Linked DNA regions of Homo sapiens: regions 1, 2, 3, 5 and 6 are each linked to region 4. Evidence: promoter capture Hi-C in 16 types of primary human blood cells and fetal thymus (Javierre and others, 2016). All regions are on one chromosome and are shown on one strand. Each heading gives the region's core, a stretch centred on a gene start or on the middle of the fragment in contact. The rest is flanking DNA. Distances are from core to core; before and after follow the strand shown. Region 1 overlaps DVL1 (dishevelled segment polarity protein 1). Region 2 holds the start of CCNL2 (cyclin L2). Region 3 holds the start of ATAD3C (ATPase family AAA domain containing 3C). Region 4 holds the start of PERM1 (PPARGC1 and ESRR induced regulator, muscle 1). Region 5 holds the start of ACAP3 (ArfGAP with coiled-coil, ankyrin repeat and PH domains 3). Region 6 holds the start of SCNN1D (sodium channel epithelial 1 subunit delta).

Evidence for each region. Contacts are between HindIII fragments. The CHiCAGO score rates a contact against its expected background, and 5 or more counts as called.
Region 1: a contact is called between a fragment that was not itself captured here and the fragment with the promoter of PERM1 in region 4, in 2 of 17 cell types (naive CD8 T cells and total B cells). The highest score is 6.4, in naive CD8 T cells.
Region 2: a contact is called between the fragment with the promoter of CCNL2 here and the fragment with the promoter of PERM1 in region 4, in 1 of 17 cell types (activated CD4 T cells). The highest score is 6.8, in activated CD4 T cells.
Region 3: a contact is called between the fragment with the promoter of ATAD3C here and the fragment with the promoter of PERM1 in region 4, in 6 of 17 cell types (activated CD4 T cells, total B cells, naive B cells and 3 more). The highest score is 12.9, in activated CD4 T cells.
Region 5: a contact is called between the fragment with the promoter of ACAP3 here and the fragment with the promoter of PERM1 in region 4, in 9 of 17 cell types (naive CD4 T cells, activated CD4 T cells, total CD4 T cells and 6 more). The highest score is 9.9, in naive CD4 T cells.
Region 6: a contact is called between the fragment with the promoter of SCNN1D here and the fragment with the promoter of PERM1 in region 4, in 13 of 17 cell types (activated CD4 T cells, naive CD4 T cells, M0 macrophages and 10 more). The highest score is 15.8, in activated CD4 T cells.

The regions. Positions count from the first base shown.
Region 1 is chr1:1,343,757-1,347,438 of GRCh38, reverse strand. The region is part of intron 1 of DVL1 (dishevelled segment polarity protein 1); the gene reads left to right. Among named protein-coding and RNA genes, the nearest start is that of DVL1, 3.8 kb to the left of the region's middle. RefSeq lists enhancers at 1-318, 520-1,398. The HindIII fragment of the contact is 5,737 bases long and covers 1-3,682 here.
Region 2 is chr1:1,396,946-1,400,587 of GRCh38, reverse strand. CCNL2 (cyclin L2) reads left to right here and starts at 1,253. Exons shown (of 11, transcript NM_030937.6): 1 at 1,253-1,569; 2 at 1,917-1,991; 3 at 2,246-2,355. The coding sequence starts at 1,282. MRPL20-AS1 (MRPL20 antisense RNA 1) reads right to left here and starts at 1,058. Exons shown (of 3, transcript NR_015434.1): 1 at 899-1,058; 2 at 285-430. RefSeq lists an enhancer at 1-315 and silencers at 701-760, 1,051-1,290, 1,361-1,540. The HindIII fragment of the contact is 37,128 bases long and covers 1-3,642 here.
Region 3 is chr1:1,447,770-1,451,497 of GRCh38, reverse strand. ATAD3C (ATPase family AAA domain containing 3C) reads right to left here and starts at 1,809. Exons shown (of 12, transcript NM_001039211.3): 1 at 740-1,809. The coding sequence starts at 814. The HindIII fragment of the contact is 12,234 bases long and covers 1,471-3,728 here.
Region 4 is chr1:980,843-983,342 of GRCh38, reverse strand. PERM1 (PPARGC1 and ESRR induced regulator, muscle 1) reads left to right here and starts at 1,250. Exons shown (of 4, transcript NM_001394713.1): 1 at 1,250-1,278; 2 at 2,170-2,500. The coding sequence starts at 2,314. The HindIII fragment of the contact is 23,754 bases long and covers 1-2,500 here.
Region 5 is chr1:1,305,505-1,309,476 of GRCh38, reverse strand. ACAP3 (ArfGAP with coiled-coil, ankyrin repeat and PH domains 3) reads left to right here and starts at 1,547. Exons shown (of 24, transcript NM_030649.3): 1 at 1,547-1,708. The coding sequence starts at 1,662. PUSL1 (pseudouridine synthase like 1) reads right to left here and starts at 880. Exons shown (of 8, transcript NM_153339.3): 1 at 757-880; 2 at 505-562; 3 at 204-391; 4 at 1-23. The coding sequence starts at 833. RefSeq lists silencers at 239-368, 379-518, 549-618, 839-1,518, 1,559-1,728 and 2 more. The HindIII fragment of the contact is 38,674 bases long and covers 1-3,972 here.
Region 6 is chr1:1,278,576-1,282,616 of GRCh38, reverse strand. It overlaps SCNN1D (sodium channel epithelial 1 subunit delta), which reads right to left and starts at 2,181. Exons shown (of 18, transcript NM_001130413.4): 1 at 1,951-2,181; 2 at 1,320-1,391; 3 at 1,007-1,206; 4 at 302-375. The coding sequence starts at 1,955. It overlaps LINC01786 (long intergenic non-protein coding RNA 1786), which reads right to left. Exons shown (of 3, transcript NR_185846.1): 3 at 2,010-3,549. The HindIII fragment of the contact is 8,116 bases long and covers 1-4,041 here.

The DNA of each region.
Region 1 (3,682 bases), core at 602-3,101, 360 kb before region 4:
CAGGGCAGAGACAGCCTGACTGTTGCCCTAGTGCACTTCTAGCAGTGGCTGCACCTGCTGGGCACATTTGGAGGACGCGTGGGTGCCCGGGCCTGGGAACAGGGTGGGCAGGTCTGGGTGTCGAGGCAGGCTTGGGGATGCGGCCAGGAAAGAGACAGGGGAGCTTCAGTGTACAGCTTTGGAGGCTGCAGACTTACAGGGGGCTGGGAGTCAGTGGGGCTGCAGAGGTCAGGGCTGGGCTGGGCTGGGCTGTGGGGGTTGGAAAGAATGGACTGGGGTGATGCTGGAGGTCCAAGACGAGGGCCTTGCTCTGTAGCCTCCCAGGTCCTCTGGCTGGGATGGGGGCCTTGCTCTGTGTCCTCCCTGGTCCTCTGGCTGGTGGCCTCAGGAGCCTACGGAGGACCCTCATCAATTACTTCCTTCATCCCTTCCCCTGAGTTCTACCCGCAGACCTCTCAGCACTGTCTGTTCTGTGGAATAGAACCCCCGTGGGAGGGGCTGGTTGGTCAGTAATACTTTAGCTTAAGCGACTGCTGAACTAGACACTGACCCTGGATGCCAAGCGAATGTAGTTGGAGATGGGGGGAAGAGAAGGCAGGTCCTCGCTGGTCTGGGGTGGCCTTCATAAGAGAGGGAGCTTCAGGCTGGGGACGCTGAGGAGGCCCTGGTGAGTCGGGGGTTCCTGCGCCAGCCCCCGCTGCATTCTCAGCCCAGCCCTGGTTCCCCAGCCTCTGCTCCAGAGCATGACTGACCACCTTGCAGTGCAGGGAGCCTGTGTCATGGCCACAACCACGTGCCCTGGTCTGGACCCCACTCCCCACGCACGGCTTTGGCCCAGTGGGTGAAGGTCCCCCGCCTGTCCTCCACTTTTCATGCCCTGGTCACAGCTATTCTGACCCAAGATCCCCAGGGCTGGGAGGAGGGCAGAATTGGGGAGGGTCTCTGCCTGGTGCTGGGTTTGGTGGTTGGCAGGGGGTCTCGCCCAGCCTTGGGCCGAGGCAGAGGAGGGAGGGTGTTTGGCTCCGGGTCCCCACTGCTGGGTGCGTGGCGGATGCTGGGCCTGCTGGACTTGGCACCGAGGCTGTCTGTTGGGCACAGCTCCCACAGTTCATCTCCGAGGTGGGGGTGACCCAGGCCTGGGACTGGGGGATGGGTGGAGGCAAGGCTGTGGGCCCAAAGCCCTGGTCCCCAGGGCCGCCTGCCATGGGCCTCGGTGTTGTGACAGCTCCTTGTGTCCTGGGTGGTGCTGTGGGGAGCTATGGAGTTGGGGAGGCTCTGCCTGGCCTGGGCTGTGGGGGGAGTTCCCACTCCGCCCTCCCTGGCTGTGCCACTTGGGGTCTGTGACTCAGCCTCTCTGTGCCCTGAGTGCCTCCCTGGTTTTGGGAGGGTCCAGGCAGTTCACCTACTGCACTCATAGCCATGGCCTAGCAGGGACACTTGAGCCTGTGTGTCCTGAACCGGGGGAGGGGCACAGAGAGATCCCAGGACTCGGCACCACCCAGGGGACAGGCTGGTGGAGAGCCCCTGGCTCTGGGGTCAGGGGTTGGGAGGCCACAGACCCCCAAGGCTGAGGGCCCTGACCTGGGGCGTGCACAGGGGGCTCTGAGGGCACAGGATGGCTCTGCACCGCCTGTCCTGGGCCAGCTACCCCTGCCAGCTTCCTGCTCCGCCTTGGGAGAATGGGGTGCATTCGGGACCACGCCACGTCTAGGGCAGCTGGCTGTGGCCTCTGGGAGTCTGGAGGGTTCTCTGCATCCTGTGTGGCCATGCTGGCTCCCAGGGCGCTGCCTCTGAGTGGATTCCTCCCCGGGGCGGGTCTGTGGGGGCAGCACACAGGTTAGCCAGGCCTCACAGGGAATCCCAAGGTGGGGGCACAGTGCCGGCAGGGGCGCCCCTGGCAGCTGCCGTGAGTTTCAGCGGAGGCTGCTACAGAGGCGCGGGGACCCCGGGTTGTGGGTACGCCCCCAATGCCTGGCCAGCCTCCAGCACCCTCCCCCATCTGGCTGGGGTGGGGACGGCAGGGCTCTGCCTGGGACCTGGGTAGCTGATCCCTGGAGCCCCAGGCAGACCCCACCCTTCCCTCTGTGCTGTTTGGGTCCTGCTCCCTTTCTCCTGGCCCAGCCAGGCTTGGGTCTGCACCCTGCCACTGGGGGCAGGGGAGGACTTGTTACACCCTGTTGGGCTGAAGAGGGCGGAGTGAGTAGGGCCTCTGGGTCCTGGCTGGACATCTGTGAGGGGGCAGGGGGCAGGGACATCCCAGGCAGCCTGGGGTCTTCGTGAGGCCCTGGCTGGGTGGGCCATGCGGGCTTGGGCCACTCTGGATGGTGGGAGGGGGCAGGGCCCTCTTCCGGTGGAGCCAGGCGGGTGCTGTACTGGGGTGCTGGGTGGCCGAGTCTCCCTCCAGTGAGTCAGAGGGTGCTGGGTGGCCGAGTCTCCCTCCGGTGAGTCAGAGGGTGCTGGGTGACTGAGTGTCTCCCTCAGGTGAGTCAGAGGGTGCTGGGGTTGGGTGTGGCAGGGGAGAAGCTGCCGGCCAGGCCACCTGGGGCCGTGTGTCAGGGACTGAGGTGGGGACCCTGCCAGGGGCTCTGCTGTGGTCAGGTCCATTAGAGACAAGGGCTCACTGTGGGCCCTGGCCCCCTGGCGGCAGCTAGTGGTGGCCTCGGTGTCCGTGGGGCCCGCCTCACCCTGGGTTGCTCCAGCCTTTCAGGTGTGACAGCCTCTCACTGTGGCGGCCTCAGCCTGGCATGGGGTCATGGTCTTACCTGGGAAGGCTCCTGTGTGGGGGCAGCAGACGTGGAGGGGTCTGAGAAGTGACCTTCTCTGCTCTTTGGGGGCGTCTACCTCATGGCCTGGCCCTGGGTGGCCTGGGGAGGCAGCTGCAGGACCCCAGAGGGCTAGGTAGGGGTCCCTGCTCCCACCTGGGCTGGCCCTGCCTGCTGTCCACTCTGCCCTGAGGCTTGGGGCCTCTTCCCAGCAAGTGGGTGGGCCAGGGCTTGGGTGAGAGTGTGGGTTTGCCACTTTGCCGGGGGCCTCCTGCTACCTACTGCTTCGGAGTCTGGCTGAGTCAAGGTGCCCCGGGGTCAGGGGACCTGGAGCGGCCAGTCGGGGTGGCTCTGTAGCTCGCAGTGGGACTAGCAGCCACAAGGCCGCTTCCTGCCAGGTGTGCGGCCAGGCCAAGCCCCGTCTCCGGGCTCCTATTTCTCCACTGGGCCCAAGTCCCGGGCGTGGAAAATGCTGCTGGGCAGGGCAGGGTGCCACGAGGCGGCGTCCAGATCCTACCCAGCCTGCTGCCTGGGCCCTCAGAGGTCACAGTGTGAGTGTCGACCACAGCCCTGCCTGCCTTGCTCCTTGGCCTGGGGACCTGCCCCTGCCCAGCCATCCCCTCTGTGCCGTGTGGGTTGCCACCCTGCCCTCTGAACTCTGAGCTCGGGTCACCCGGCCTCCTCCTGGTTCGTGTCCCCTGACCCTCTGCGGCCTGCCTGGGTGCCCTCTGCCCCGTTCCCAAGCCTATCTGACCTGGGGGTGGACTGGTGAGGCACCTGGCCAGCTTGCTCTCCTGGGGGCCCTGCCGGCTCCGCATCCCCTGCTGCCCCTCTAGGTCCTGAGGTGCAGGGAGGTTTGGTGAGTGGAGGTCTTTGTCTCCCTGGCTAGGTGGACAGGACAGGAGGGTGGTGGGCGGCCT
Region 2 (3,642 bases), core at 4-2,503, 420 kb before region 4:
GAGTAAAGCTGTAACCATACCGTGTTACCCATAACAGGCGGTGAGGAGAGTGGGTTTTGGTTGGCACTGTTTGAGCTGCAGTATCAAGTCATGGCAGAGCTAGTGGACAGCTGACCTGGGGGTGGGGGTGAGGAGCAATGGTGGCTTCTGAATTTGAGCCCGTCTGAGCTGGGCAGTTACTGGCAGCTCAGTGTGTGAACCTGCAACCACTCAGGCCTCTGCTGCCCTTCCCTCTTCCTGCCTCACCGTTCCCTGCCCCACGCAGGCTTCCCCACCATCCTCACCCGTGGTCCTGTACTAGTCCTGGCAAAGGTTCCGGTAACTGCAGCAACAGATACCTCCTGCCCCTCCTGCACAGCTGTGGTCGATCGCAGGACAGCCGCAGGTGATGAAAAACCGTGAACCCAGGACGGGCAGGGCGTGAGACCGCCTGCGGGAGGATCAGCGATGTCAAGACGTTACAAACGCACGAACCCCCTCGCCGTCTCCCTGGCGTTTGTGAGGTCCTGTCCAAGCTCCTTCACACGTAGATCACCGGGCCTCGCTCCCCCGACTCCTTCCGTGGGCCTGAACCTTGAGGTACTTAGGCCTCCCCACGCTGGAGGGGCTCTGTAGGGACGTCGAGGCCACGTTTCCAGTCATCCCTCCACCCGTCTCTCCCCAGGGGCTGAGTGTTGAAGGCAAGACTTTGCAGGAGTCTGGCGTTAATACGCATCCCCAAAGTCTGGAGTCGATAAGGACTGAAGACACGACGCCGACGGCGGCCGGGGGACACCGGGCATGCGCGTCTCATCCAGGGGGAGGCCGAGCGGAGCCTCTGACCCTGCCCCGCGCCCAGGGTTCAGCAGTGGGGGTCGTCCCGCCCCAGATCCCACCGAGATGGCCCCCCTTGACCCACAGGCCTTTCGAGACGCGAGCTTCCGCGATCCGGGGTCTCTGTGCGAACGTGGGCATCTTGGAAGAGTCCCAGCCCCGCTCGGGGCGCACAGGCAGGCGCTCTCAGCACGGCACCCGCGCCTCCGCTAGGGACAGACATGCTTCCGGGTCGGCCGGCACCGCGGAGTCCCCTGGGTAACGAGCCCGCCCCACCCGCGCCAGGTTCCGGCGTCGGCGTTAGGCGCGTTGCTGACGGGCAGGTTATGTAGCCAATTGCGGCTAGGCGGCGTCGCGCTGGTCGCGGGCCGAACCAATGGCACGCGACGGGGCGGGGCGGTGGCGGCCGTGGAGCTTCGCGAGGAGCCGCCCTGAGGGAAGAAGCCGAAGGGGAGTCGGCGGCACAAAATGGCGGCGGCGGCGGCGGCGGCTGGTGCTGCAGGGTCGGCAGCTCCCGCGGCAGCGGCCGGCGCCCCGGGATCTGGGGGCGCACCCTCAGGGTCGCAGGGGGTGCTGATCGGGGACAGGCTGTACTCCGGGGTGCTCATCACCTTGGAGAACTGCCTCCTGCCTGACGACAAGCTCCGTTTCACGCCGTCCATGTCGAGCGGCCTCGACACCGACACAGAGACCGACCTCCGCGTGGTGGGCTGCGAGCTCATCCAGGCGGCCGGTATCCTGCTCCGCCTGCCGCAGGTGAGGGCGCGGCCGCGAGCCTCCGGCCCAGGTAACCGCTGGGGCGGCAGCCGCCTTTGTTGGCGGCGAGTCGGGCCCGCACCGCCCCCGCCTAGACCCCGACCCCAGCCCCTGCCCCGACCCCAGCCTCGGCGCCATTCCCTAGCCAGCCCATGCCCCTGACCCGGGGCCTCCCCGCCCGCCAGTGCGCTGGATCCCGAGACGGCGGGACGCGAAGAGCCTTTGTGGACGTGGGAAGCGTTTCAGTGTTTGGTTCTGCGTGGGGAGTCCCACGTTACTCGATGACTTTCGGCCGCGAAGGCTTTGAATGGTGCGTTTGAAAATACGGAAACTTTCTTCTACTCTAGGTGGCCATGGCTACCGGGCAGGTGTTGTTCCAGCGGTTCTTTTATACCAAGTCCTTCGTGAAGCACTCCATGGAGGTAAGGCTTCCTCCTGCACTTCATTCCCAGCGAAGTATGTTGAGGGTAAAACGGTTTGTTACTTTGCCCGGTTACTAAGGGAGTGAGTACTTGCCCCCCAGTCTGAGCTCTGTGCCGGAGGGTTCTGTTTCTTGACTTTTTTTTTCCCCTGGGTGCACCTCCCTTTTGGTCTGAATAGCCCTCAAGCCTTTGGCGGCCGTCAGGACGCCGTGGCTGGGGACAAACATGGGCGTGTTGCAATGCTTCCGCTTCAGCATGTGTCAATGGCCTGTGTCCACCTGGCTTCCAAGATAGAAGAGGCCCCAAGACGCATACGGGACGTCATCAATGTGTTTCACCGCCTTCGACAGCTGAGAGACAAAAAGTGAGTCAGTCAGAGCTGTCTAGTCTATCATAGATGCCTATTTTCTTTATTTCTGATTAAGTTACAGTAAGGCTTGTATAACACAATACAGGCCTGAGGCTCTAAACCTGTGGGATATTCATGAGCGCAGTCTCAAGCTCCACCAACAGAGCCTGCTCAGAGGCATCAGTAGATGCGGTTTAGTAAGGGCAGGGGCTCCAGTGAGGACAGTGCGCTGTGGCGGGTCGCGCTGGGGCTGGCTTCCTGCTTTACCCATGTCAGTGCACGGCCCTGCTGCTGCTTCTGTCCCACAAGTTTCTGAGTGCTCTGGAGCAGGGAATCTTAATCTCAGCACTATTGACATTCAGGCTGGATAATCTTTTTTTTCCTCCTGAGACAGGTTTCCTGTTGTCCAGGGCAGAGTGCGGTGGTATGATCATGGCTCACTACAGCCTCAACCTCCTAGGCTCAAGAGTTTCTCCTGCCTCAGCCTCCTGAGTAGCTGGGACTATAGGAGCACGCCAACCATGCCAGCTAATTTTTATTTTTTATTTGGTAAAGATGGGGTCATGCTGTGTTGCCCAGGCTGGTCTCAAATTCCTGGGCTCCAAGGATTTGCTGGCCTTAGCCTCCCAAAGCACTGGGATTACAGATTTCAGCCACCGCATCTGGCTGGGTAATCTTTAGTTGTAGGGGATTCTCCTGTGTGCTGCAGGATTCAGCAACATCCCTGGTCTCGACTCACTGGATGACAGGAGTACCCCACCTTAGATGTGACAGCCAGAAATTCTCTCATACCAGATGTGGGAGCTCACACCTGTCATCTCAGCACTTGGGAGACTGAAAAAGGAGGTTTGCTTGAGGCCAGGAGATTGAGGCTGCAGTGAGCTGTGATGTCACCACTGCACTCCAGCCTGGACAACAGGGTGAGGCCCTGTTTCCAAAAAAAACGAAAGTCTGTTGATGTTGCTTCATGGCCCTGGAATAGTAAAATTTCTCCAGCAGAGAACCGCTGCCTCTGACCTTAGCCCAGGGTTTATGCACCTGAAGTTAATTGAAGTCCTTTAGAAAACACAGCCTCTGGCCGGGCTGGCCTGTAATCCCAGCACGTTGGGAGGCCTAGGCAGGTGGATCACCTAAGGTCAGGAGTTCGAGACCAGCCTAACCAATATGGTGAAACCCTGTCCCTATTAAGAACACAAAAATTGGCCAGGTGCAGTGGCTCACGCCTGTAATCCCAGCACTTTGGGAGGCCGAGGCGGGTGGATCACGAGGTCAGGAGATCGAGACCATCCTGGCTAACACGGT
Region 3 (3,728 bases), core at 560-3,059, 470 kb before region 4:
GTGGGTGCCTGTAATCCCAGCGACTTGGGAGGCTGAGGCAGGAGAATGGCTTGAACCCAGGAGGCAGAGGTTGCGGTGAGCTGAGATCGCACCATTGCACTCCAGCCTGGGCAACAGAGTGAGACTCCGTTTCAAAATAAATAAAATTAAAAAATCTTGCTGAGCTGGACGCGGTGGCTCACGCCTGTAATCCCAGCACTTTGGGAGGCTGAGGCAGGCGGAGATCAGGAAATCGACACCATCCTGGCTGACACGCTGAAACCCCATCTCTACTAAATATACAAAAAAAATTAGCTGGGCGTGGTGGCAGGTGCCTGTAGTCCCAGCTCCTCAGGAGGCTGAGGCAGGAGAATGGTGTGAACCCGGGAGGTGGAGCTTGCAGTGAGCCAAGGTCGCACCACTGCACTCCAGCCTGGGCGACAGAGCAAGACACCATCTCAAAAAAAAAAAAAATCCTGCTGAGTCAAAGAAATGAGGTGAGAATGTCAAGAAGATCCAGGCCCTCAGGACGACCAGACGCCCTCACCAACACCGGCCCTCCCTCTCGGGCGGCTCTGCGGCAGCGTCTCTCACCTCCCCTTGTTTCCTTCTGTGAAATGAGGCGCCCAAGCTTGGCCCTGGGCCCCACTGCTGCCCATGTACACACCCCCGGCCCTACCCACCGGCAGTAGCCCTACCAATCTCCACGCCCGAACCCCATGTGTGCCCCGGCCTCCCCGCCCACACCGGCCCCACTCACTTTGAGCTTGGACTGTTGCTCCAACTGCAGCGTCTGCTCCTGCATCTGCGCCAGATTCAGGGCGTCCTTTGACATGGCCTGCAGATGCAGGGACACGGAGGGCAGGTGTTAGGATACACGGATGCCGCTGGGCAGGCACGCACACCAGCCAAGGGGCTTTCTGGAATCCACGGCCACGCCTCGACCTCAAAGCCCCCAGCCCTGCCTCCCCATCCTCCTTCCTAGTCAGACCTGGCGTGACGATGCCCCATCCCCAGCACACGGCCTGATGCATTTGTGAGGTTTTATGCCCTCCAGGGATGGTCTTGGAGAGCCACATCAGGAAGGCCATCCCATGTGGACGGGAGGAGGCTCTTTCCCAATTCAACAGAAAGTCAGGCGATGGCTAAAGTGTCCATTTTTTCACGTTACACATGCTTTTTTTTTTTTTTTTTTTGAGACGGAGTCTCATTCTGGCCCAGGCTGGAGTGCAGTGGCATGATCTCTGCTTACTGCAAGCTCTACCTCTCGGGTTCACGTCACTCTCCTGCCTCAGCCTCCCGAGTAGCTGGGACTACAGGCGACCGCCACCACACCCGGCTAATTTTTGTAGTTTTAGTAGAGACGGTTTCACCGTGTTAGCCAGGATGGTCTCGATCTCCTGACCTCGTGATCCGCCCACCTCAGCCTCCCAAAGTGCTGGGATTACAGGTGTGAGCCACCGCGCCCGGCACATACCCTTTTCCTAAGCTTCCAATGGCTGTTGTCAGTGATCTGCTATCAAGAACGTGCGGGCAAGAAAATGAAAGAATAAGAATTAGATAGCAGCCAACAAGCTCAGGGTGACGAGGACAAGCATCTGACAACGTCCTCAGTTACATTTTGTTCCTAGTGGGGAACCGACACAGGTCAATGTTTGGGTGACCTGGGACAGAAGTACGTATTCTCTGAGCTGCTGAGGACTCAGCATCAGGTCTCAACATTTTCCGGGATGAGTTTTCCCATCACAAAATTTTACCATAAAAATCTTCTGGCCGGGCGCGGTGGCCCATTGAGAAAATATGCAGGACCTTGGGGAGTTAATCATGAAGGGGATTAAAGAATCCATGCCCGGAACCCAGAATCTTACCCGAATATTTAACATACAGCAAGGAAAAGATAAAGGGCCTGCGACATAATTTTTAGACAGATTAAAAGAACAAATGAGAAAATATGCTGGTCGAGGTGTCGAGGATCCTCTTGGGCAAGGAATTTGTCACTAACAGTTGGCCAGATATTAACCACAAATTACAAAAGAAAGAACTAGAAAAATAAGCCTGTAGAAGAGATTCTAAGAGAAAGGGAAAAAAATCTTAGAGGAAAGAGAAAGACTGACAGAAGGAACAGAGAAAGTCAGAGAGAGAGAGAGAGTCAGAGAGAGAGAGAGACAGAGTCAGAGAGACAGAGTCAAAGAGAGAGAAAGACTGACAGAGGGAACAGAGGAAGTCAGAGAGAGAGAGAGAGTCAAAGAGAGAGAGAGACAGGCAGAGACAGAGTCAGAGAGAGAGACAGAGTTAGAGAGTGAGACAGAGACAGACAGAGAGAGACAGAGTCAAAGAGACAGAGAGAGCCAGAGAGAGAGAGAGACAGAGTTAGAGAGAGAGAGAAAAGGAGAGATAGAAGTAGTCAAGAAAAAGCAATGTGCCCCATTCTTTTAAAAGCCAGAGTACGCCCGGCGTGGCAGCTCACCACGCCTGTAATCCCAGCACTTTGGGAGGCCGAGGCGGGCAGTTCAGGAGGTCAGGAGATCATCCTGGTTAACATGGTGAAACCCTGTCTCTACTAAAAATACAAAAAATTAGCCGGGTGCGGTGGTGGATGCCTGCAATCCCAGCTATGCAGGAGGCTGAGGCAGGAGAATTGCTTGAACCCAGGAAAGACAGAGGTTGCAGTGAGCCGACACAGTGCCACTGCACTCCAGCCTCGACGACGAATGAGACTCTGTCTCAAAAAAAAAAAAAAAAACAACTTACCGAAAGGCATGGAGGCCACTGACAACTATCCTTAATGTGGTAACCCACAGACGGCCGTAGTGCATTACAGGACGACACTTATTTAAAGATAGTTCCTCCCAGGTGATTCGAGGAAAAAGACACAATGGGTAATCAGTAACTAACAGGAAAAACTCTTGTGGAAATAGAGTTAAGAGGCCGGGCTCTGTGGCTCACACCTGTAATCCCTGCACTCTGGGAGGCTGAGGCGAGTGGATCACCTGAGGTCAGGATCACCTGAGGTCAGGAGTTCGACAGCAGCCTGGCCAACATGGTGAAACCCCATCTCTACTAAAAATACAAAAATTAGCTGGCCGTAGTGGCAAGCACCTGTAATCCCAACTACTCAGCATGCTGAGGCAGGAGAATCGCTTAAACTCAGGAGGTGGAGGCTGCAATGAGCCGAGATCACGCCATTGTACTCCAGCCTGGGTGACAGAGTAAGACCTCCGTGTCAAAAAATAAAAAATAAAAAAATAGAGTTAAGAAAGTTTCCTAATAACTGGTCTGCTCAAGCATGAGAGCTGTTTGCACTCAGCCAAGCCTCAAAGTACTTACAGAACCAGGAAGGAACCATCTATACCAATTCTAAGTATGCCTTTTAACTGGGCTTTTTTTTTTTTTTTTTTTTGAGACAGAGTCTCACTCTGTCGCCCAGGCTGGAGTGCAGTGGCGCTATCTCGGCTCACTGCAAGCTCCGCCTCCCGGGTTCACGCCATTCTCCTGTCTCAGCCTCCCGAATAGCTGGGACTACAGGTGCCTGCCACCACACCTGGCTAATTTTTTGTATTTTTAGTAGAGACAGGGTTTCACCATGTTAGCCAGGATGGTCTCGATCTCCTGACCTCGTGATCCACTCGCCTCGGCCTCCCAAAGTGCTGGGATTACAGGCATGAGCCACTGCGCCCGGCCTGAAGTGGCTTATACATTAAAAAATATATATATTAGACTGAATGAAGTCTTATTAATAGCAAAGGATA
Region 4 (2,500 bases), core at 1-2,500:
GGAGGCACAGGGAGGCGGCCGCAGCCGAGAGACGCCACACAGAAGCAGATGCGCAGCTCCTGGGAAACTCCAGCCTGGAGCACGGCCACGCAGCCACCTGGGGAACGGGGCGGCACCTTCTGACGCTGACCCCAAGCGTCCTGGAAATGTGAGAGGTTCGCCGAAAGGAATGTTCCCAGATATTCACAGCCGCACCGTGTGTGGTAGCTGCAAACTGGAAACGACCCACATCGCCACCCACGGGAAACGGCACAGCCGCGTGGCACGTTCACACAGGACAGCCTCACCCGCCCGGGCAGTCGCCCGCGGCCCTCATGGCAGCTGTCTCCAGAGCACGGCGTGGGCCCGAGGACACAGATGCAGAAAGGGATGCAGGGTGCGATTCCACTTGTGAAAGCTCAAGTCAGGCCGGCCCTGCGTGGCGGGACGCCTTGTCCTGTGGTCTCGTGGCAGCTACTTTCTGGAAAAGCATCGTATGGCACCAGGCATGCACTTTCTGCACGCCCAGCTCTCACTGCCACCCCTCACGGCGCACACCCCAGTCTCCTAGTATCGTGCCCTGAACTCTCAGGAGCTTCTCGGTCCAAGCCTCCTCCTTAGAGAGGTCTCCGGCCCCTCCAGCCACGCCTCTCCCTACTTCTTTCTCAGGACGTGCTGCCATCGGAGCTGAGCTCACCTGCCTGTTTGATCGGATGTTTATTGTTGGATCCCTCGCCCTGTCCTCTTGTCCCCTCTGGCTCGGAACCTGCCTGGGAATGGGCACCGTGAACCCCAAGGTCAGGACGGCCTGGAGGGTGCAGCTGAGCGGAGCCAGGCGTGGGGGCTCTGACGCTGACGCTCCCTGGCGTCACTCACCCTCACATGAGCCCCAGAGGTCAGGACCGGGAGGCACAAGCCCTGGCCGGGACACAGAGGCCATCTCAGAAGCAGGCCAGGAACATTCCAGGGGCGGCAGGGAGGGCAGGTCTGAGGTTTCACCGCGGGTGGCGGAGGCACGGGAACTGAGCGGTGCTGCCTGCTGGTCAGCGTCCTCCGGCCCGTGTCTGACCCCACCTCAGCCCGGCCCCGTGCCAGGAAGTCGTCCTCATGTACTGTAGCTGGAGGGCCCTCAAATGCCATCTATTTGTGGCCTGGACCCTGATGGCTGGCACGAGTCTCATGTGGCCACAGGGACGTGGTATTTTTGGCACAGGGGGAGGAGCCTGTGCAGCCACAGCCTAGCACCATGCCGACCCAGGACGGGCAGCTCAGACGCCCAGCTCGGCCGCCGGGACCCAGGTAGGACATGGTCAGCTGCTGGCTCCTGACCCAAGGGGCCCCAATGGTAACAACCCCCACAGAGGCTTCTCAAGAGACCAGAGAGGAGGGCGAAGGTCAGTGGGTGGGAAGCCACCATGCCCTGGCCTCCGTCTCAGGACCGTCCCCACCAAAGTGACTTCCCACCCCTGGGTCCAGAGGGGCTGACCTGAGGCCGAGGGCGGCCCCCTCTAGGGGTAGACCCGACAGCTGGCTAGGGTCTCCTTGCTTCTCTGAGACGGGGCAAAGGAAGGCACCCCGGGCAGCCGGGCAGGCCTGGATCGTGGTGCAGACCTCGAGGACGGCCCGAGGTGGCTGCTGGGTCAAGAGACCCACCGCAGCCTGCACCTCCTGCCCAGGCTCTCCGTGCTGACTTGGGCCAGCTCTGGCCAGCACCACCTGGTGAGCTCAGAGAATAGCCTGGCCCAGCCAAGGCGATCGGAAGGTCATCGCCGAGGGCTGGGCACCTGCTGGGCCCTGTAAACCTTTCCTGTGGCCGGCTGCCAGCTGGGGCGCACTGGGATGGACCAGGGCTGCCCACCCCCGAGGGCACTGGTCCCATCGGGTGGACCCTGAAAGGTGCTTTGCCGTGCAAAGACAGCTCTGGCAGAAGGTGGAGGAGGTGAGGCTGCCCCAGCTGAGGTGTGATGGGAAAGAGCATTCAAACCTGAGGACGGCTGGTTTTATAGCTTCACTGGTAGAAAATCATCCTTGATTCTAGGAATGTAACACCGCATCATCACACAGCTATCATTTGGGGTGCGTTGGGAACTAGGGTCATGGGAGCTGGGGATCTTCTAACTTGGAAATCGTCACCACTAGGTTTGAAGGAAGCGCGGCCCTCCCCTCGAGATGCTGTTCTCTTCCTTTCAGGGCATGGATGGAGCCCCGAGGCGGTGGGAGCTCCCAGGTCTCGTGGGGCAGGGGCGGCATGTGCAGGGTGGTGCCCGGGGCCTGAACCCATGAAGACCCCACCGGACCCATTCTGCTACCCTCCAGTGCCTCTGCTGACTCCACATGGAAAATTTCCAGTACAGCGTCCAGCTGAGTGACCAGGACTGGGCCGAGTTCTCAGCCACCGCCGATGAGTGTGGCCTCCTGCAGGCCGGCCTGGCCTCTGGGGACGAGCTCTTGTCCAGTGACATTGACCAAGGGGACAGCAGTGGCAGCAGTCCCCCCAGGGCCCCACCTCTCCCAACTGGGC
Region 5 (3,972 bases), core at 298-2,797, 330 kb before region 4:
GCACTCGGAAGGCCCGCAGGACCCTATGGCGGCAGGTAAAGCTCACCGGAGGAACGACCCCGCCCGCCCGCGGTGTCACATTGGCTCTCCTTCCCCCTCGAGCTCCGACCAGACAAGGAAGTCTGTCCAGATCTCCAGCCTCCGCCCGCGACAGATGGAGTCGGGAAGGCACAGCCCCAGGGCTGCTTAGGTCGCGGGCTCACCTGATGGCCGGGTGCCGCAGGTGTGTGTTGAGGGCCTCGGCCAGGACCTCGGGCGGGAAGGGCGGCCGGCCTGAGCGGCGCTGGACGTCCAGGTGCGCCGCGTTGCTCAGGGCGTGGACCCCGGCGTCCGTGCGGCTGGAGATGGTGAACCTGACCGGCTCCACGGAATTCAGCCGCTCGGCGGCCTCCTGCAGGACCGAGCCGCGGGGCGGGCGGGTGAGCGAGGCCGGACCCCGGGGACGCGCGGGCGGGAGCCTCCCCCTTACCCCTCACCGGGCGTCCCGTGACCGGCTGAGCGCACCTCCAGGTAGTTCTGGACCCCGACGGCGCGCTGAGTGCCCCTGACGGCCGCGACCCCGCTGCGGGCAGAAGCGGGCGGAGGTTACCGGGGGCGCCCTGCCCTGGGGTCTCCGCCGCCGTCTGAGGCCAGGGCCGCTTCCTTCCCCGAACGTTTGGAACCCGCGTCCAGAGACATCCGCCTGCCCGCCCGCGCCCTCCTTCCCGCCTCCGCCCGGGCCCACGTGGCGCCCGCCGCTGCGCCTGGGAAACCTACTTAAAGTCGGTGCCCACGTACTGGAAGTACACAAGATAGCGCGCGCGCACGGAGCCTGAGGCCGGCGCCGAACTCATGGCGGAGCCCAGCCGGTGGCGTCAGAGGCGGCCTCCAGCGCAGGAATCCTGCGCGCGCGCGGACGCGGCCTGGTCACGCCCCCCCCCCCTCCCCCCCGGCCCCGGCCGCTCTTGCGCCTGCGCGGTGGCACCGCGCCACGGCGGCCAGAGTCGGGGAGCGGAGGCGGGGCCGGGCTTAGGGAGCGGCTGCAAAGTGCCGGCCCGCCGCCGAGCGCAGGCGCTCTACCTCTATCGCGGCGCCCCGGGAGGCGCGCACCAACCACGCGGTCACCCCGCGCTCTCGCGGGCGTGCATTCGTTCACTCGCTCATTCATTCGCCGCCGCCCACACTCCCCGAGCGCGCCCGTTCGCCGCGTTGCGGCCAAGTCCTCCCAGACGTGGTTTTTGCAAACGCCCTGAGTTGCGCAACGGCCGGGATGGTTGGAGCGGGCGGGCCCGCGCCCTCCCCGCGCCCTCCCCGCGCCCCACATTTCCACCGACTGTCCCCGGAGACGGCCGTGGCAGGCCCCGCCTCACTTCCGGACCGGGGTGGTCCCTGGACGCTGCGAGAGGCGTTTGGCGACGCTCCCCGGCGGTGACAGCGGGCGGCGCGCGCGGGCGGCGGACCTTGGCGACGCTCCCCGGCAGTGACAGCGGGCGGTGCGCGCGGGCGGCTGACTTTGGCGACGCTCCCCGGCGGTGACAGGCGGGGCGGGGCGCGGCGCGGCGGCCTCATTCCGGGGCGGGCGGGCGCCGAGGCGGCGCGGGCGGGACGAGCGGTCCGGGCCGGCGCGGCTGCCGCTCGGCGCCGCGGTCCTCGTGCCAGTGAGCGCCGCGGCCGCCGCAGCCATGACCGTGGAGTTCGAGGAGTGCGTCAAGGACTCCCCGCGCTTCAGGTGCGCCGCCCGGGGCCGCCGGGGTGGGCGCAGGCCGGGGGCGTCGCTGTCGCCTTTGTGCCCGGCGGCGGGGTGGGGAGGTCAGCGCCGGGCCGGGCCGCGGCCGCCGGGGAGGGGCTGGAGGACCGGCCTCGGACAAAGCGGCGGCCCCGCCCCGCCATGCCCCGGGGGTTGGAACAAAAGACGCTCCTGCCCTGTGCGGCCGCCCCGGGTGGAGGGCGTGCGCGTGGGCAGCCGTGGGCACCTCGGGACCGTCCGCCCCCGCTCTGTGTCTGCACCTCCACTGGGCTGAGCCCCTCCCGGGCCCTGCAGTCCAGCTCTGGCCAGGGTCGTCTGGGTCCGTGGGGGCGTCGGCCCCTGGTCTCTGACTTGATCCTGTGTCCAGAGCAGCGCGTGGGGAACAGGCAGCTGGAGCCGCGTTTAAGGCCTGGGGTAGGGTGCTTGGAAACGTGAAGTGGTTTGAATGACCCAGGGGCTTGGAGGGGTGGCGGCCGAGAAGAGCGGCGGGGAAGGTCAGGTAGGGGGTAGGGGTTGTGTGCACACCGAGTCTGCATGTTTTCCATCATTCGTGGCGTGCAGGCGTGTACACCTGCGTGAACTACATGTTCACAGACGTGTGCACAAGTGTGCATCGGCTTTGCTTGGTGGACATTTGGCAAACGACAATGGAGGCAAAGAAACCTCTCTGCATCCCCAAGTGCGCACCTGCGTGAGGCCCCCTCCTCTGCACGAGCTCGTGCGGGGTGCGCTCTTGTGAACTTTGCCCCTCTGCGTGCCTCCCTCCGGACACCAGGCCTTGCACAGGACGTGTGGATGAGCTGTGCCACGGGGCTGTGCTTGCTTCTGCATGTAGCCTGCCGATGAGTGCACGCAAGCGTGTGCACACACCACCTGTCTGTGTGGGTTCACGTACTGTGTTAGCCATGTCAGCAATAGACACATCACCTTGTACACGCGTGTTCCATCACTAGGTACACATGTTGATGCGTGTCTGTGCAGTGTCTCCTTGAACACACATGTATGTGTGGTACCAGTGTGTGCAGGCATGTTTGTGCATGAACATGTTTGCACATGTGTGCTTGATTGTGTATGTGTGGGTGTGCACGCGCGCGCTGGGTCTCTTGGGATCTGCTGGCAAGTCAGCATGTGTGTGGAGGCACGGGGAGCCTCTGTATCCCTGGAGCCCTCACCAGGAGGCTCAGGAGCCTTGGAGTGGGAGGCTCAGGGCCAGCCAGGAGAGTGGCCGCCAGCCCTGGGCAGAGGAACTGGGGCCATCCTCTGCTCTCCCATCTTCTGTTGCTGACCTGGGAAAAGGGGTTGAATAACTTGAGCACCCTAGGATCCTGCATTGAGGACCCGGGCTGTGGGGAGGTGTGGGCATGGCCTCCCTGCTGGGGGCTGGACCCTGGCTGAAGCACCCACCTTCTCCCTGGCCCCTCCGTCAGAAGCCTAATGGACCTCCTCCTCCACGCAGACGGCCCTGTACTGCCCTCTTCCAGTCGTGTGGGGGTGCTGGAACCCACTCACCTCTGGGCCTTCTCTCTGGTAACCGGCTCTCATGGGAGCCTGTTACAGGAGCCAGTTATGGGGGCTGTGGGGCTGCAGTAGGTGCCGTAGAGTGACTGCCCTGGGAAAGTGCCTCACCCCTGTGGGGCATGGACTGGAGTGGGGAGATGAGAATGGCCTGGCCCAGTGGGTTTTGGGGTTAGGCTGTGATTTAACTGGGGTTCGAGGGGCTCCCTGAGGCTGTCCTGGGGGCAGGCCCTAAGGGCGTAACTTGAGTTTCCTGGCCTACCGCCAGGTTGGGGGGCCAGGCAGGGTGGGCGGGAAGATGTGGTCTGTAACGTGGAGCCTGGTCGCCCCAGCCCGGGAGAGGGGGACCCTGCCCGCACCCTCCTGGTCTGGGGAGGGCCTAGTGGCAGCCCAGGTGCAGTGGGCCGGAGGCCAGGGGAGCCCGTGTAGGGGAACCGCCTGGCCTCTGTTCAGTGTGCCCCTCCCCTGGGTGGGGCTTCAGGCGCTGAGTCATGGCTTTGGTTGGGGGGCAGCCTCACCCTCCTCCCCGTCCTCCAAGCTGCTGAGGAAATCCTGGGCTGAGCACAGCAGAGGAGGCCTAGGTCCCCAGGACTGAGGAAGGGAGAGCTGAGGGGCTCCCAGCAGTGGGAGCGGCTCTCGGGGCCTCTGCCAGGGCCCACCCTGTCCCCATGAGCACGTCCGTGAGCTCCTGGGTGCAGCCATCCCCCCTTGCTGGCTCTCCAGGGACACGG
Region 6 (4,041 bases), core at 932-3,431, 300 kb before region 4:
TCAGGGTCCAAATCACAGTCTCCCAGGCTGGCGTCTTCAGCCCCAGTGCGGTTGTGTGGAAGGCAGGTGTCCCTGTCCCCCAGGACCACCCCATCCCTGTCTACTGTGGGACCCTAGATATCCAGGTGGCCTCACTGTCCCAAATGACCAGACCCGAGCCGGGCCCAGGTTGGAAGGGTAGGCTCTGTGTTCCTGACATCCTGCCCCAAGTGGTGCTGGGTCCCTGGGCTTGGCTGGGGGAGCCCAGCCCCACAGGGTCCAGCAGCAGAGCCATGGCTCTGAGGAGGGTGAGGTCACCTGCCTGCCGGCTCTGGAAGGAAGCAGCTGCCACCGGTGACGTCCTGGAGAGGAAAGCCATGCTGGAGTCACCCAGGCCTGTGTGAATCACAGCTTCGTCACTGGCTGTGTGGCCTTCCCGAGTTACTCAACCTCTCTGAGCTGATTTCCTTGAGTGCCAGATGGGGCTGGGGTGCCTCTCCAAGCTCGCGGCAGGGGGCTTGCTGATGTCACAGAGACCCCACAGGTCAGCGGCAGGGCCCCCGGACACAGCACAGGCCTGGGGCTTCTCCCCCACCACATCTGGGCAGCTTTGTGCGTGGGCCGCACCTGCCGAGGAGACAGGGCACACATGGCCCGGGCGGCTACTTGGCAGGCGGGGACAAGGTCCTAGGTGCTTGCCAGAGATTGTGGCTGGAAGCAGCCTGTGCCTCCCTGTGTCCCCGGGAGTGGCCTGGCAGACAGCCCAGCCTTGGTGCAGGGTGCAGAGAGAGAAAGAGCCCAGGTCCGGCCAGTGGGGCCCGGTCCAGCCAAAGGGCAGCTTGCAGGAGCAAGGCCCCCGGCTTCCTGTAGGAGGGGGAGCCCTGGCCGGGGGCAGAGCACCCCTTCCATGACCCGTATGCCCTGCAGGGCCTCAGTCAGAGCACATCTCGGCTGGATCACGCAGCTCCCGGCTCCACCCCCCTCCCCTCCTCCCGGGCAAGGCCTCTAAGGGCTGAGGTTCAGTCACCTGTCCCACACCCCTGTATCGGGCCAGAGAGTAGGCAGAGGGGGTAGCCACAGAGCACATGTCCAGCACTGGTGAATCCACATGGTCCTCCCCCTCTTCTGGGCCATCCCCTCGCTGGCCCGGTGCAGGGGGTGGGGTGGGGCGAACCCAGCTCCCGGCATGTGGGGGTCCTGTGGTCACTGCACCATGACCAGGTGAGCCTGAATGAGAGAAGGGACGGGCAGGCATCCCTGGCTCCCTTTGGGCCCATGCCTCTGCTCTCTCCCAGGAAAGACGGCCAGGCCCCATTGACCGAGCATGGCTGTGAGCTCACCTCCTTGGGCCGCTGAGGTGGCCGGGCCACAGGTAACGAGGGAGCGGTGTTGTCTTCTGTGACAGCACTGCCCTGGAGATGGCAGGCGCCTGGCATCTGTGGGACCCCAGCCAGGACCTCCTATCCCAGAGCCCCGTTTCCTCCCCTGGGGTGAGCGTCCCCCACTCAGGGTCACTCTGAGTCAGCCCTGGGACGGTTCTGGTGCAATAGACAGGCAGCCCAAGGTCGGGATTCCCGTGGGCATGGGCAGGCCAGGGGTGGCCTGGGGTCCCTCTGGGGTCCTGCACCCAGGCAGGTGAACAGCCTCCCAGGCAGAGCCCCCTCGGCCCCGGGCATCAACTGCACTGTCCAGTGGAGCCTCCGCAGAACAGGCACTAAGGTGGCACCAAGGTGCCCCCGGCTGCTGGCCTGGGTGGGTGCTGAGGGTGGGAGTGTGGAGCTTGGGGTCTGGCCGGTGTCCCCTGCTGGGAGGAGTAAGGTGCGTGTGGGCTGCCTTCTAGGTTCCCTCATAAACCAAAAATAAAATTATAAGCCCTGAACTGTCTGGATGGACCCCTGGTCTTAGCCATGGGCATTCCAAAGTTAACCTGAAAAACTAGCTCAGCTGTGATGGGAAGGGAGTCGGACGCACCTCATGCCTCCTCCCTGCTGGAATTCAGGCACAGCATCAGCATCACCTCAGGCCTTGAGTCTGATGAGAAGCATTTATAGTTGATTCTCTCTGAGGCTTGTGACCTGGTGGCTTCATCTGCGATAAGACCTTCATCTGCACAACGCCATACTGTAACCAGACATTCCCTTCTACTGATAACAACTCTTTTTTTTTTTTATTTATTGAGATGGAGTCTCGCTGTCGCCCAGGCTGGAGGGCAGTGGCGCGATCTCGGCTCACTGCAGGCTCCGCCCCCCGGGTTCACGCCATTCTCCTGCCTCAGCCTCCTGAGTACCTGGGACTACAGGCGCCCGCCACCACGTCTGGCTAATTTTCTGTATTTTTAGTAGAGACGGGGTTTCACCGTGTTAGCCAGGATGGTCTCGATCTCCTGACCTCGTGATCCGCCCACCTCGGCCTCCCAAAGTGCTGGGATTACAGGCATAAGCCACTGCGCCCAGCCTAATTTTTGTATATTTTTTTAGTAGAGATGGGGTTTCACCATATTGGCCAGGCTGGTCTTGATCTCTTGACCTGGTGATCCGCCTGCCTCGGCCTCCCAAAGTGCTGAGATTACGGGTGTGAACCACTGCGCCCGGCCACCTTTTTCTTAAGACAAGGAGAACGACTCCCTTTTGGGTACCCCATTTGGTTTCTAGCTCGGACGTGCGTTCCTAAGGGTCTTCTCTGTTGCTTTTTCTCCCAAAATTAAGCCCAACTGGCTTGTGCGTGCATTTGCATGAGGAACTGAATTGTTCTTTGCATAGATAAATGAGAGACTGAGTTTTCTCAGCTCCAGAAAGAAAGGCATTTTGCTCCTCCCAGCTGAAAGGCGCCCCTGGGTGACTGTGAGCCAAGTGGGAGTATCTCGTGGGCTGATCCCCCACGACGTGCAGCAGCCCCACAGGGAACCCCCCAACACAATTAGTTTAAAAAGGTTTGTCTGCTGGGTGCAGTGGCTCACGCCTGTAATCCCAGCACTTTGGGAGGCCGAGGCGGGTGGATCACGAGGTCAGGTGATCGAGACCATCCTGGCTAACACGGTGAAACCTCGTCTCTGCTAAAAACACAAAAAATTAGCCGGGCATTGTGGCGGGAGCCTGTAGTCCCAGCTACTTGGGAGGCTGAGGCGGGAGAATGGCGTGAACCCGGGAGGCAGAGCTTGCAGTGAGCCGAGATCGTGCCACTGCACTCCAGCCTGGGCGACAGAGCGAGACTCCGTCTCAAAAAAAAAAAAAAAAAAAAGGTTTGTCCAGGAAATGCACATAGGAGCTGGTCACTCTGTGTTTTGAGTCCTCTCGGAGGTGTTGGACTTCTAGAGAGAGAAACAGAGACACGTAAGAGGGCGAAGATGCCTCAGTGGTGACACACTGGGGAGTCCCGCCCACGACCCGTCCACGACCGGCACACTCAACCTGCTCCACGGAACCCCATTCCACAGCTCGGTTCCTCTGCGCCCCACCTGCTCCACGGAACCCCAGTTCCTCCATACTCAACCTGCTCCACGGAACCCCAGGCCACAGCTCAGTTCCTCCGCGCCCCACCTGCTCCATGGAACCCCAGGCCACAGCTCGGTTCCTTTCAAGAAAAAAAAAAGTGGGAAATAAATAATGTAAGCCTCAGCAAAGACAAGAGGGCGACCTCCTTCCAGGCACCCCGCTGGTTTCAGGCGCCTCTACCTGCAAGTGTTGGTATAAAACTGAACATGTCGCGGGCATGCTGGGTTTCCTAGTGCCCCAGCTGGTTCCATATTATGGTCTTTTGGGGCACATTTTAAACTGATGGGCAAATTCCATCCAGGAAAAATTCAGAGCCCAAAGGTCAGCCTGCAACTACAGAACCATAGAGTTCCTGGCCAGGCGCAGTGGCTCACGCCTGTAATCCCAGCACTTTTGGAGGCCAAGGCGGGCGGATCACCTGAGGTCAGGAGTTCGAGACCAGCCTGACCGACAGAGTGAAACCCCATCACTACTAAAAATACAAAAATGAGCCGAGCGTGGTGGCATGCACCTGTAATCCCAGCTACTTGGGAGGCTTAGGCAGGAGAATAGCTTGAATCTAGAAGGCGGA